3 separate regions of the Homo sapiens genome follow, and regions 1 and 3 are each linked to region 2. The links are contacts of gene promoters, found by promoter capture Hi-C in blood cells and fetal thymus (Javierre and others, 2016). All regions are on one chromosome and are shown on one strand. The core of a region is centred on a gene start or on the middle of the fragment in contact, and the rest is flanking DNA. Distances in the headings are between cores, read along the strand shown. Region 1 holds the start of LOC124905149 (a long non-coding RNA gene). Region 2 holds the start of PLXNB2 (plexin B2). Region 3 holds the start of CPT1B (carnitine palmitoyltransferase 1B).

What was found. Contacts are between HindIII fragments. The CHiCAGO score rates a contact against its expected background, and 5 or more counts as called.
Region 1: a fragment that was not itself captured here is called in contact with the fragment with the promoter of PLXNB2 in region 2 in 2 of 17 cell types (naive CD8 T cells and total B cells); the score reaches 6.8 in naive CD8 T cells.
Region 3: a fragment that was not itself captured here is called in contact with the fragment with the promoter of PLXNB2 in region 2 in 9 of 17 cell types (monocytes, naive CD8 T cells, M0 macrophages and 6 more); the score reaches 8.8 in monocytes.

What each region holds. Positions count from the first base shown.
Region 1 is chr22:50,628,649-50,632,622 of GRCh38, reverse strand. LOC124905149 (a long non-coding RNA gene) reads right to left here and starts at 1,129. Exons shown (of 2, transcript XR_007068161.1): 1 at 1-1,129. The HindIII fragment of the contact is 623 bases long and covers 2,408-3,030 here.
Region 2 is chr22:50,306,396-50,309,872 of GRCh38, reverse strand. PLXNB2 (plexin B2) reads left to right here and starts at 2,227. Exons shown (of 37, transcript NM_012401.4): 1 at 2,227-2,320. It overlaps DENND6B (DENN domain containing 6B), which reads left to right. Exons shown (of 20, transcript NM_001001794.4): 20 at 1-843. RefSeq lists silencers at 1,156-1,205, 1,906-1,955, 2,116-2,315, 2,326-2,395, 2,916-3,066 and an enhancer at 3,374-3,477. The HindIII fragment of the contact is 14,640 bases long and covers 757-3,477 here.
Region 3 is chr22:50,575,419-50,579,126 of GRCh38, reverse strand. CPT1B (carnitine palmitoyltransferase 1B) reads left to right here and starts at 700. Exons shown (of 20, transcript NM_152246.3): 1 at 700-741; 2 at 1,193-1,352; 3 at 1,664-1,803; 4 at 2,093-2,270; 5 at 2,490-2,591; 6 at 2,792-2,929; 7 at 3,015-3,092. The coding sequence starts at 1,212. CHKB (choline kinase beta) reads left to right here. Exons shown (of 11, transcript NM_005198.5): 11 at 1-164. It overlaps CHKB-CPT1B (CHKB-CPT1B readthrough (NMD candidate)), which reads left to right. Exons shown (of 30, transcript NR_027928.2): 11 at 1-91; 12 at 1,193-1,352; 13 at 1,664-1,803; 14 at 2,093-2,270; 15 at 2,490-2,591; 16 at 2,792-2,929; 17 at 3,015-3,092. RefSeq lists silencers at 669-788, 1,129-1,208, 2,693-2,987 and an enhancer at 2,693-2,987. The HindIII fragment of the contact is 2,404 bases long and covers 154-2,557 here.

The DNA.
Region 1 (3,974 bases), core at 1,470-3,969, 320 kb before region 2:
GGGAATTGAACCCAGGCCATGGTAGTGAAAGTACAGAATTTTAAGTAGTTTCCAAGATGCAGCAGTCTTCATTGTGAATCCTGCAGGGATCCAAAGCAATGGTTTGCGCGCACAAAGGATTTTAACTTGTTACAGGTCAGATTTTTGCTCTTTAATTTTGTGAAGAGGATTTCTAAGGCTAGCCACAACATTATTATGTGTCTTTCCTTTAATCTCCCCACAAATACAAATAAGGCAATTGTTTAGAATGAGAGACCTCTAAAATCTTTTTTTTTTTTTAATTTAGGGATCTTTCTAATGTAAAGGATTCATCTTTTGGCTATTGACAATCAGAATTTCCAATGATGTATTTATTCCAATAGCAACTCAATCCAAGAAGCCCCTTCATGGAAAGCCCAAAAGATTATTTTCCAGGTTTAGAGAGGGCATAGAAGAGGAGGTTCCAATGATGCCCCCAAAATTCACTCCCAGGAATAGGCAAAGACAGCAAAAGACTCTTGTTCCCAGAGACAGTTAAGGAACGTGTTTGTACATACAGTGCCTCCAGTAACACACAATCTGTCAGGGGCTGCCAGTCACAGACCCATTAACCTGTAACACAGGGTAGGCCTGTTGGGATTGGGCTTTCTGAGGACTGACCAGGCAACAAACATTGGGATGACAAAAGCCCCTTATGGATGGGCCTGAGGAGAGCAAAAACCACCTGGCGACCATCAAACATCAAACAGGCCCTCCGAGGCAAAACTCCTTATCTGGGGAAAATCAAAAGTAACTAAACCTCCCTATTATCTAAAGCAGGCATCTGGTTCCAGATTTCTTCCCCCAAAAAACGTGTAAGTAACTATAATTTCTATGTGTCTCCAGAATACCATGACGAAACTCACTGTACAACCGTCGCTGACATTAAGGCACCAAAATTACTATAAATGTAATCATTTATCATGACTTACGTGGCTAATATGGTCCAAATTACTGTTAAGCCTCCACTTTAAGGCCTATAAATGCCCTTAAGGAGAAATCCACCCGGCGTACTCAGTCCTCTTGCTGAGGCACCTCATTGCACTCTTCTGCAGCATTCTAATAAACTTTCTTTCTTTTCTTTTTTTTTCTTTTTTTTTTTTTTGAGATGGAGTTTCACTCTTGTTGCCCAGGCTGGAGTGCAATGGTATGATCTCAGCTCACCACAACCTCCATCTCCCAGGTTCAAGCGATTCTCCTGCCTCAGCCTCCCAAGTAGCTGGGAATACAGGCTCCCGACACCATGCCCAGCTAATTTTTTGTATTTTTAGTAGAGATGGGGTTTCATCATGTTGGCCAGGCTGGTCTTGAACTCCTGCCCTCAGGTGATCCACCTGCCTCAGCATCCCAAAGTGCTGGGATTACAGGCGTGAGCCACCGTGCCCGGCAAACTTTCTTTTTTCTTTTTTTTTTTGAGACAGTCTTGCTCTGTCTCAGCTCACTGCAACCTCCGCCTCCCAGGTTCAAGCAATTCTCCTGCCTCAGCCTTCCAAGTAGCTGGGATTACAGCCACGCACCACCACACCTGGCTAAGTTTTATACTTTCAGTAGAGACAGGGTTTCTCCATGTTGGCCAGGCTGGTCTCAAACTCCTGACCTCAGGTGATCCACCCACCTTGGACTTCCAAAGTGCTGAGAGTACAAGCATGAGCCACTATGCCCGGCCAAACTTTCCTTTTTCAAACCTATTGTCGGTAAACTCTTTTTACCAACCCGCAAGTTGACCACCACTCCCAGTGCCGGGGCTCTGACAGCTCGCCTGGCAGGGACTTCTTAAGACAAACTAAAAGCTTGACACATTCAGAACAAAAACGGTGCTGCTTAAAATATTAAATGTCTTGGGTTCCCAACCATTTTCAGACTGACCACAAAATGTGACCTGCGAGTCACTACCTCGGATTGGCAGAGGCCAAGAGAGTGCTCCTGAGGTAGGAGGTGGGACTTAGTTGACCCAGTTGAGGATTGGCTAAAACAGGGTTGGGGCAATAGCAGCTTTCAGTCAGATATGCCCGCCACTGTGCCATGTCAGTTTACCATTGCCATGGCAACACCCAGGAGTTGCCACCCCTTTCCATGGCAATGACCCAATGATGACTACTCCTTCCCTAGAAACTTCTGCATAAACCATCCTTTAATCTACATGCAATCAAAAGTGCGTATAAATGTGACTGCAAAACTGCCCTGAGCTGCTACTCTCAGCCTACGGGGTGGCCCTGCTCTGCAGGAGCAGTCACAGAGCTCTAACGCCACCTGTTCAATAAAGCTGTTTTCTTCTACCTCTGGCTTGTCTTTGAATTCTTTCCTGGGCAAAGCCAAAACCCTCACTGGCTAAGCTCCACTCTGGGGTCTGCCTGGCCTGCATCATTCCCACTCGCTCACAACTCAAGCTTTCAAGGACATCAAAAGAGAGGAGAATCTCATCCAGTTTTCAGTTCAGGGACCCACAGCAAAGTCTGTCTAACTAGACGCATCCGATCAGAGCTGCAAAACTGACTAGCCTGCAGGACGGCCCCAAGACGGGGTTTACAGGGGTTTTAGGCCTGTGTTCTACCCTCTTTATGACAGAAAAACACAGAAAGACAAGAATGAAAGACGACTATTTCTGGGGAAAAAAAGCAATCAAACAATATGAATACAAAACTAATCACATAAATACATTTCTCTCATTAAAACTTTGAAGAGGAAAACAAGGTAAACAGACATTTTTACCGTCGGCTTGACAAGATTCCAGAGAGGCCGGGAGCCTGGCTGCTAAGACCTTCTTACCCTTCTTTCTGCCAGCTTGTCGGCTCCTGGGTTCCCCTGACGGAGGCTCCCAGGAGAGTGACTTTAGTTATCCTACCGACTGCACCAAAACTGTAGGAGCCTAGAGAAAAACTTTTCTGCATTCTGAGTTCACAGAAAATCAACTGACAAAAGCCAGGTTAGTAAGAAAAAAGGCATACAGATTTATTCATGCACACAGGGAGAACCAGAGTGATGACCCCAACCTCCCAATGGGGTTCGGAAGCTTATATACCATCTTGAGGTTACAGAAAGAACATGGGCTCAAAGTATGGCCACAGTTTATGGTGGAAAATCAGGTGACCAGTGGCAAGACCGGTTACAGGAGGGAGAGCAGAGGAGGCCTGGCTAGCAAAGGTGGCCTTGTTCTACAGATGAAACCTCACAGGTAGCAGCCCTGAGAGAGAACAGATGGTGAATGTTCCCTTCAGGCCTTTAAAGGCGTCAGACTGTTACTCTTCCCAGATCAGGCAAGGAGGGCCTCAGAGGAGGCCTGGCCGCATCAGTGTAGATTCTCTCCACAGATGCAAATCTCCCCCACAAAAGACAGCTTTTCAGCTATTCTTCTATTTCCAGTCCTTCTGAGTAACTGTCTTGAACCGTGTCAAGGAAATATATTTGGAGGTGACATATTGTGTTTTCCTTCAAGATCAAAAAGGTTAAGTCCAAGGCTGCCCAACGAGGGAGCGAGGACCCAATCACGTTGTCCTCAGATGAGTTTTTCCCCAGCAGCGTAACCCTGCAACAGGCCAGACTGGACCCCAGACACACATTCCACACCACACCACGCCTCCACCACCACACGCACACAACAGACACACCCTAAACACCAGACACACACACACACCTCAACCACCGCAAACACACATACGCCACACCTCTAACACCACACACACCCAACACCACACACATACGTGCCTCAAACACTACACACACCTCAACCACCATACACCTCAACCACACACACCCCTCAAACACCAAACACACCCCTCAACCACACACACACACCCCTCAAACACCACACACCCACCTCAAACACCACACACACATATCCCTCAAACACTACAAAAACACACACACACACCTCAAACACCACACATGCACACACACCTGAAACACCACACACCTGCCTCAAACACTCCACACACACCACACACAGACACGTACACAGC
Region 2 (3,477 bases), core at 978-3,477:
CACAGTCTCGCCTCACTTGGCTTTCTGAGGGCTGCCGCACAGCACAGAGGGCTGCAGACCCACATGGCTGCAGGGGAGGGGCTTCAGGCTGGTCTCTGAGGAGCCCCCAGGGACCCTGGCCACTGTGTATCCAGAAATGCACAAGCAGATTTCCCTGGAGGGCTCTGGTGAGGCCACATAGTGGCGTGTGAAGGGGGAACTTGAGGGGGGAACCGGGCTGGGTGGCCAGCATTGCCCTGGGCAGAAGCTAAGGCTAAGGTGGGGGGTAGTGTCCCAGCCCCTCTTCCTCAGGGCCTGTCCCCACCTGTGCAGAAGAGGCCTGGGGTGGAATGTGGCCTGGGGTGGATGGGTGGGGGCTGGGCGTGGAGACCTGCCAGCTCCATCTGTCCGGATGCCTCTTGTGGCCCCCCCAGTGTCAGGGCCGCTCTGAGTTGGCTGAGCCTCTGTCCAGGGCTAGGCCATGGCCCTCCCCGCCCCACGCACTCCAGGCCAGGGGCAGTCAGTGAAGAGGCAGGAAGGTCCAGACAGCTCTACCCCTGGCCAGAGTGCCAGCCCCCGCAGGCAAGAGGGCTTGCTGGGCAGAACTTAGTTGGCGAGGGTGAGGACTGCTGTGGTCACAGGCCTCCCGAAGGACAGGGACCACAGAACCTAGAGGGTGGGAAGGGCTGGGAGCAGGTCTGGAGTGGGGCTCGGGGCTGAGGGTGCACACAGGGGGCCTGCTCAGGGACAGGAAGGACAGCTGCTCACCCTCAAGCTTCCTGCTGGCTATTTAAAGACTCCCTTTTAGTCTAGAACAGTGGCCTTCCCACAGTTTTGGTATTAAAATGTCCTTTTGTGACTGGACCTTGTCTTTTCCTTTTTTGATAAAAAGTTGGCAACCTTGTCAGAACCTGGTAATTTTGGGGTCCTCTGCAGTGAAGGGTAGGGTTGCCGTGATGTGGATTGTGGTTCAAGGCCCAAGGGAAGATTTTGGACAGGAACAAGGCCTGGCTGCTTGAGGGTGGGAGAAGGCAGAGACTGAAAGAACTAAGTCAGGCTGGGGGAGTTTGTCAGGATGTGGCGGGGCGGATCCCGGGTGGGGGAAGCAGAGGAGGAGGGGATGCCTGGCTGGGGACAGGAGGAAGCTGACCAGCTGCAAGGACGGGGCAGGTCTGGGTGGAAGGCGGGCCCCAGGGAGGGGTGACCCAGGGTGGGGGCAAGAGCTTGGGGAATGCTTCTGTCTCCTGCTCAGCACATCCAGTTCCGGGAGGGCAGTGGAGGCGTGCTCCAAGGTCTGGCCCTGCAGACGGTTCACCACCTCTTCTCAAGCCCAGGGGACACTAGGAGCACTGAGGCCAGGACTTGGGACCTGGGATGCCAGAAGTGGGGCCAGCTCTGTCCCAGAAACCAGAACCCCCAGAAAGAGGTCTCGGCCCGCCCACCTCCTGGCCCTGAAGGACCAGGTGGGGTCCCGGGTGCAGCATCCCAAGGTGCTGCTGGAGGCCAGGGATGTGCTGGGAGGCCATCTCCAGGTCCCAGTTTACCCTGGGAGGTTGAGGGCCTGAGACCCCTGGGAAAGGGCCAAAGCCCAGCAGCCCCCACCCCTGAAGGCCGCAGGGGAGCGACTGGTATGCTTCCAGTCTGGGAGTGAGAGTCTGGTGCCCACACATCTCAAGACTGGCAGGGACCCTCACGTTCCTCTGGCCAGGCGAGAGTGCACTCATAATGCCCTCCCCTGGTACCAAGCCATGGCCTCCCCTCAGACCTGCGGGGTTCCTGTGGGGGTGCTCAGGCCATGGGGCCTCTGTGGGCGCTCGTGCTTCCTGGACGGCGGCATGGTGGGCAGGGTGCTGCCCTGGCTGAACCTGGGTCTGAACTGGGGTGCCTGAACCTACCAGACAATGCTGTGGCCGCTGGGCAGGGGAGAAGTGGGGGGCGCGGGGAGCGCAGGCCCAGCCCCTCCCCTCCCGTCCCCTCCCCTCCTCTCCGGTTCTCTTCTGCCCTCTCCTCCCCGCTCCTGCTCCCCCTCCCCTCCCCCTCCCCCTCTTCCCCCTCCCCCTCTCCCCCTCCCCCTCTTCCCCCTCCCCCTCTCCCCCCTCCCCCTCTCCCCCCTCCCCCTCCCCCTCCTTCTCCCCCTCCGCTTTCCCTCTCCCTCTCCCCCCTTCTCCTGTTCTCCCCGCCCTCCCCTCCTCTCCCTCGTCGGGGGCGGGGCCGGCAGCTCCCGCGCGCTCCGGCCCCTCCTCGGCCACACAAAGGCCCCGTCTCCATGGCAGCAGCGCGGGCCAGAGCGCAGCGCCGAGCGCGGCCCGGGCGCCATCGAGCCTTGGCGGCGGACGTGCAGGTACCGAGCTCGGGGGACTGGGCTGCGGGGGACGTCTCGCTGGGCGTGGGGGGGGCTTCGCCGTCAGCGCCGCTCCGCCCGGGCCTGCCGCGCTGGGGCCCGGGGACCTGCGGCGGCTGCGGCTCCGCGGAGGGCTCCCGGGGCCTGGGCCCCGTCCGTCGGTCCATCCGGCGAGGCCCGGGCCGCTGCCGCCCCACTCCCTTCCCGGTGTTGACTCGGGGGACGGGCCCGGCGGCGGGGGCTGCGCGTCCCTCCGGAGCCGCGTCGGATCCCTCCTCCGCGCCTGCCTCTCACTCTTCAGCCGCCGAGCTCCGTGCGCCGAGCGGAGATGGTCTCGCGGTGCGGGCGCTCCGGGCCGGCCCCAGGCTCAGCGGCACAGGAGCCTGGATTTGCCCGAGCTCCCGGGGGCCGTCCCCGCACCCCCTGGGGCCTGCTTGGCGCGGGGGGACCAGGGCGGAGAGCACCCGCACCTGGCGAGACCCCACTGCCTGGGCCTCCTCGCGGTTCCCAGAGTGGCGTCTGGGTGGACACCCCGAGACACAGAAAGTCTCAGAAGCGGGGGCGCGAGCCCTGCCTGTCCCCTGCTGACCCTGCCCCTCCGCACCCTGCTCCTGCAGGAAGCCCCTGCCCTGCCAGCGCCCCTGGTCGGGCTATTCGGCAGATCTGGGGAGCCCGCCTCCCCCTGTCATCTGGGGGTCTCAGAGCCCGGACGCCCTGGGGCTTCCTGCCAGGCCCTTGATTTCTCTTCCCGAAGCTCCCTGGGAAAGGAAGAAAGGGGTCCGTCTGCCCACTGTGGGCTGTGGCAGAGTCAGGACAGGGGGTGAGGGTGAGGGTGAGGGTGAGGGTGAGGGTGAGGGTGAGGGTGAGGGTGGGCCCCAAACCCGGCAGATCCCGGCGGCCTGGAGGGCTCCCTGTGCCCCACCTTCCCTGGACCCCCCCGCCCTCCCCACTTAATGTCTGACTTCGGCCCTTGCTTGGAGGTTCGGCGCAGCCTGTGAGGCTTTAAAGTTGAGCTTCCTCAGGAGCCCTTTGCGGGTGGGAGAGCGAGGCTGCCGGGAAGTGGGGGCTCTCAGCCTGCCCCATGCCCAGATGACCCTGGCACGGAACAGCTGAACAGCTGGTGGGAGGAGCCCTCCCTTTCCTGTCCAGAGGTGAGG
Region 3 (3,708 bases), core at 106-2,605, 270 kb before region 2:
AGGGAGGAACAACGAGCAGAAGGCCCTGGCGACTGGGCTGAGCCCCCAAGTGAAACTGAGGTTCAGGAGACCGGCCTGTTCCTGAGTTTGAGTAGGTCCCCATGGCTGGCAGGCCAGAGCCCCGTGCTGTGTATGTAACACAATAAACAAGCTTCTTCTTCCCACCCTGTCCTGGCCCTGCTGAGCAGCAGCAGAAAGTACCAAACCGAGCAGTACACACAAAGGGACTCTTCAGTGCTCTGGGATTGAAAGTGGTTAGCGTTCATGCTGCCAGTTGGGGTCCCCCATCCCTCCCCAGTCCCCTGGCTGCAGCTTAGAATAATAAATACTAGGACTTGGGGAGGAGGAGAGTGATGGGGGTATGAAGACGACCCTGAGGTGGGGATGCCGCCCGGAGCACCAGCGATCCCAGAACAGGCAGCAGCTGACACATCGGTGACCTTTTCCCTACATTTGGCTATTTTTAGCTCTAAAGCCACCATCCTCACGAGACTCTGGGGCCCCCCAGGCTCCCAGACCTTTGAGCAACCTTCACCGCACAGAAACCCAGCCGCGCCCTGCAATTCCCACCGCGGAAGGTGGGTGGGTTCTGGTTCTCGCCCCACGTTTTTCCCCGACCCCGATTTGGGAGTAGGTGTCAGGTTCCTGGTGAGGGCGGGGCGGGGGTGGCTAGGCCTGAAGGACGTGGGGACACGGGCCAGAGTGGCTGGCCCCACGCACGGACAGGAGTGAACCCGAGCTGTGAGTAGGGGCCGGCACAGGGCGGCCCGCGGGGGTCTGGGCCCTCAGCCCTGCACAGGGGCGAGGACGGCGCTGGGGCCCGCGCGCTCGGGTGGGGAAGGGCGGGCTCCCGAACCCTGCCTCTGTCCAGGCCGGCTCCACTTCCAGGGGCGCCTCTCTCCCCTGCCCGCGCCCTCGCTGACGCCCCCCAACTCCAGGCTGCCCTTCGCCGTCCTTGGGGCTCCTGGAGCTTTCAAGGCCCAAATCCCCTGCACCACAGTGGCTGTGCCCACCCGGAAGGCTGGCGCGAGGATTTGGCGGCGGTTGGCCTGGCGGGGGGCGCGGGCCGGGGGCAGCCGCTAGTCGCGGGGTGGGGGGCGCGAGGGGTCGCGGACTGGCTGGGGGCGTCTCGGCGCGGCTGGCGGCGGGGCCGGCCTAAGCGCGCCCGCGCACCCATCTGCCCCCGTCCTAGGTGCCGACCAACCCCCAGGATGGCGGAAGCTCACCAGGCCGTGGCCTTCCAGTTCACGGTGACCCCAGACGGGGTCGACTTCCGGCTCAGTCGGGAGGCCCTGAAACACGTCTACCTGTCTGGGATCAACTCCTGGAAGAAACGCCTGATCCGCATCAAGGTGCGCACAGGTGCTTCTCCCAGAGCGTAGGCAGAGGCCGGCTGTCAGCTGTTAAGCGCTTTGTTAGGGTCCCTCACTGCCTCCTTGGCTGGCACTTCTGCCCGGTACAGGTTGTGGAAGTACAGACACCAGAGGGGTGCACAGGATGTGGTCGGACACAGGGAGCTGTGGGTGTGGCGGAGGAAGGAGCACAGCAGGGCATCAGGAGAGAAAGCCTTCCAGGCCAAGACCAGGAGCCAGTTCCCAAGACTTCACAGGCAGGCTAACCTCCCGCCTTCCGGCTCCATAAGGGCGCCTGTTTCTGCCCACAGAATGGCATCCTCAGGGGCGTGTACCCTGGCAGCCCCACCAGCTGGCTGGTCGTCATCATGGCAACAGTGGGTTCCTCCTTCTGCAACGTGGACATCTCCTTGGGGCTGGTCAGTTGCATCCAGAGATGCCTCCCTCAGGGGTAAGGAGTGAAACTGGAAGGGCACAGGTGCCACCAGGGAGGGCTGGGCCCAGCTCCCAAGGCTGAGGTTCCTGAGCTGGGCAGATACAGGACAGCAGCCATTGGCAGTCACGGGGCAGCCCTCCCCTATGACAACCATTGTCTTAGCCCTACATCCGCTCATTTGATGCAGTCAGACATGAGTGTGCCCAGGGAGGTTCTTCCCCTTGGTGTCTCCCCTGAGACAGTTCACAGCCACCCGAGGCTGGCCTCAAGAGGACCCCCTGCAGCCCTTGCCCCTCTCCAATAGGTGTGGCCCCTACCAGACCCCGCAGACCCGGGCACTTCTCAGCATGGCCATCTTCTCCACGGGCGTCTGGGTGACGGGCATCTTCTTCTTCCGCCAAACCCTGAAGCTGCTTCTCTGCTACCATGGGTGGATGTTTGAGATGCATGGCAAGACCAGCAACTTGACCAGGATCTGGGCTGTGAGCAGCAGCCAGTGGAGGGGTTCAGGCACCTGGGTTGAGACTCTTTGGACTCCTTTGGGGTTCTGAGCTAGACGGGAGAGGCAGACAGGGCACTGGTGCCTGGTGTGTGGTTTGTCCTGGAGGGGCTGGGATGGCTCTGAGGGTCTCAGGGAGTTGCTGGTTGGTTTCCATTTTTTCCACTGGCTCCCACCCCAGCACTCTGCTCTGTACCCCCAGATGTGTATCCGCCTTCTATCCAGCCGGCACCCTATGCTCTACAGCTTCCAGACATCTCTGCCCAAGCTTCCTGTGCCCAGGGTGTCAGCCACAATTCAGCGGGTGAGGGCCTCGCTTGGGCATCCCAGTGGGCAGGGGAGGTTGGATTCAGGAGATGTTTCCAAATATAAGGTTCTGTGCAAAGAGTGGCCTTAAGGGCTTGAGAATAATGGGGCTGGGTGAGGAGGGAGAGGTGGGAAGAGGATTAAGATAGAGGCAGCCCTTGCCATCTGGCCCCACGGTGATGATAACTGGCTGGACAGTACCTAGAGTCTGTGCGCCCCTTGTTGGATGATGAGGAATATTACCGCATGGAGTTGCTGGCCAAAGAATTCCAGGACAAGACTGCCCCCAGGCTGCAGAAATACCTGGTGCTCAAGTCATGGTGGGCAAGTAACTATGTAAGTTCCTGCCCCTGGGCTCACTGTCACCTGCCATGTGTCCTGGCTGCACCCGCCCCAGCTCTAACCTTCCACCTCCCCACAGGTGAGTGACTGGTGGGAAGAGTACATCTACCTTCGAGGCAGGAGCCCTCTCATGGTGAACAGCAACTATTATGTCATGGTATGAACTAGAGCCCCCAGGTCCCCGCACGTGCTCAGCTCTGTCCCAGCTCCAAGGCAAGGGATCTGGAGGACAGCCCAGAGCTCTAGTAGCAGCTTCCGTGGGCAAGTGGGGGTTATGGAGTGAGGCCTGAGGGAAAGGGAAGAGAGAGAGGAGATCCTAGAAGAGTCCAGAAGCAGCTTAGGGGCAATGGGGATCCTAAGGATGAGGAGAGTGGAGACCGCCAGCCTGCCACCGCTTCTCAGAGTCCCGGGGTCACTGCCCCTGCCCAGCTCGGGCTCTGTCACCTCTTTCCTTGGTTTCCTCACTGGCCTCCTGGCCATGGGTTCCCAGCTGTCCTGACACCATAACCAGGGAATTGTCTAGAACGTGTCTTGCTTTGTGTCCCTCTGCAGAGCCGGACAGCAGAATGGAGGCCAGGCTGCTGCTTTTAGAGCTCAGGAAGTCAGTCTGCCTCTGCCCCATGTAACTGGCCCTTCTGAGTCTCTGGGTCTCCCAGCCACCTGGGCTGTATGGCATGCCTCTTCTCTCCTTTCCCACGGTCCAAAGCACACTTGACTTGCCAGAGCCTACTGGAATTCTCCTCCATAAGCTGTCCTTCCAGGAACTTACACAC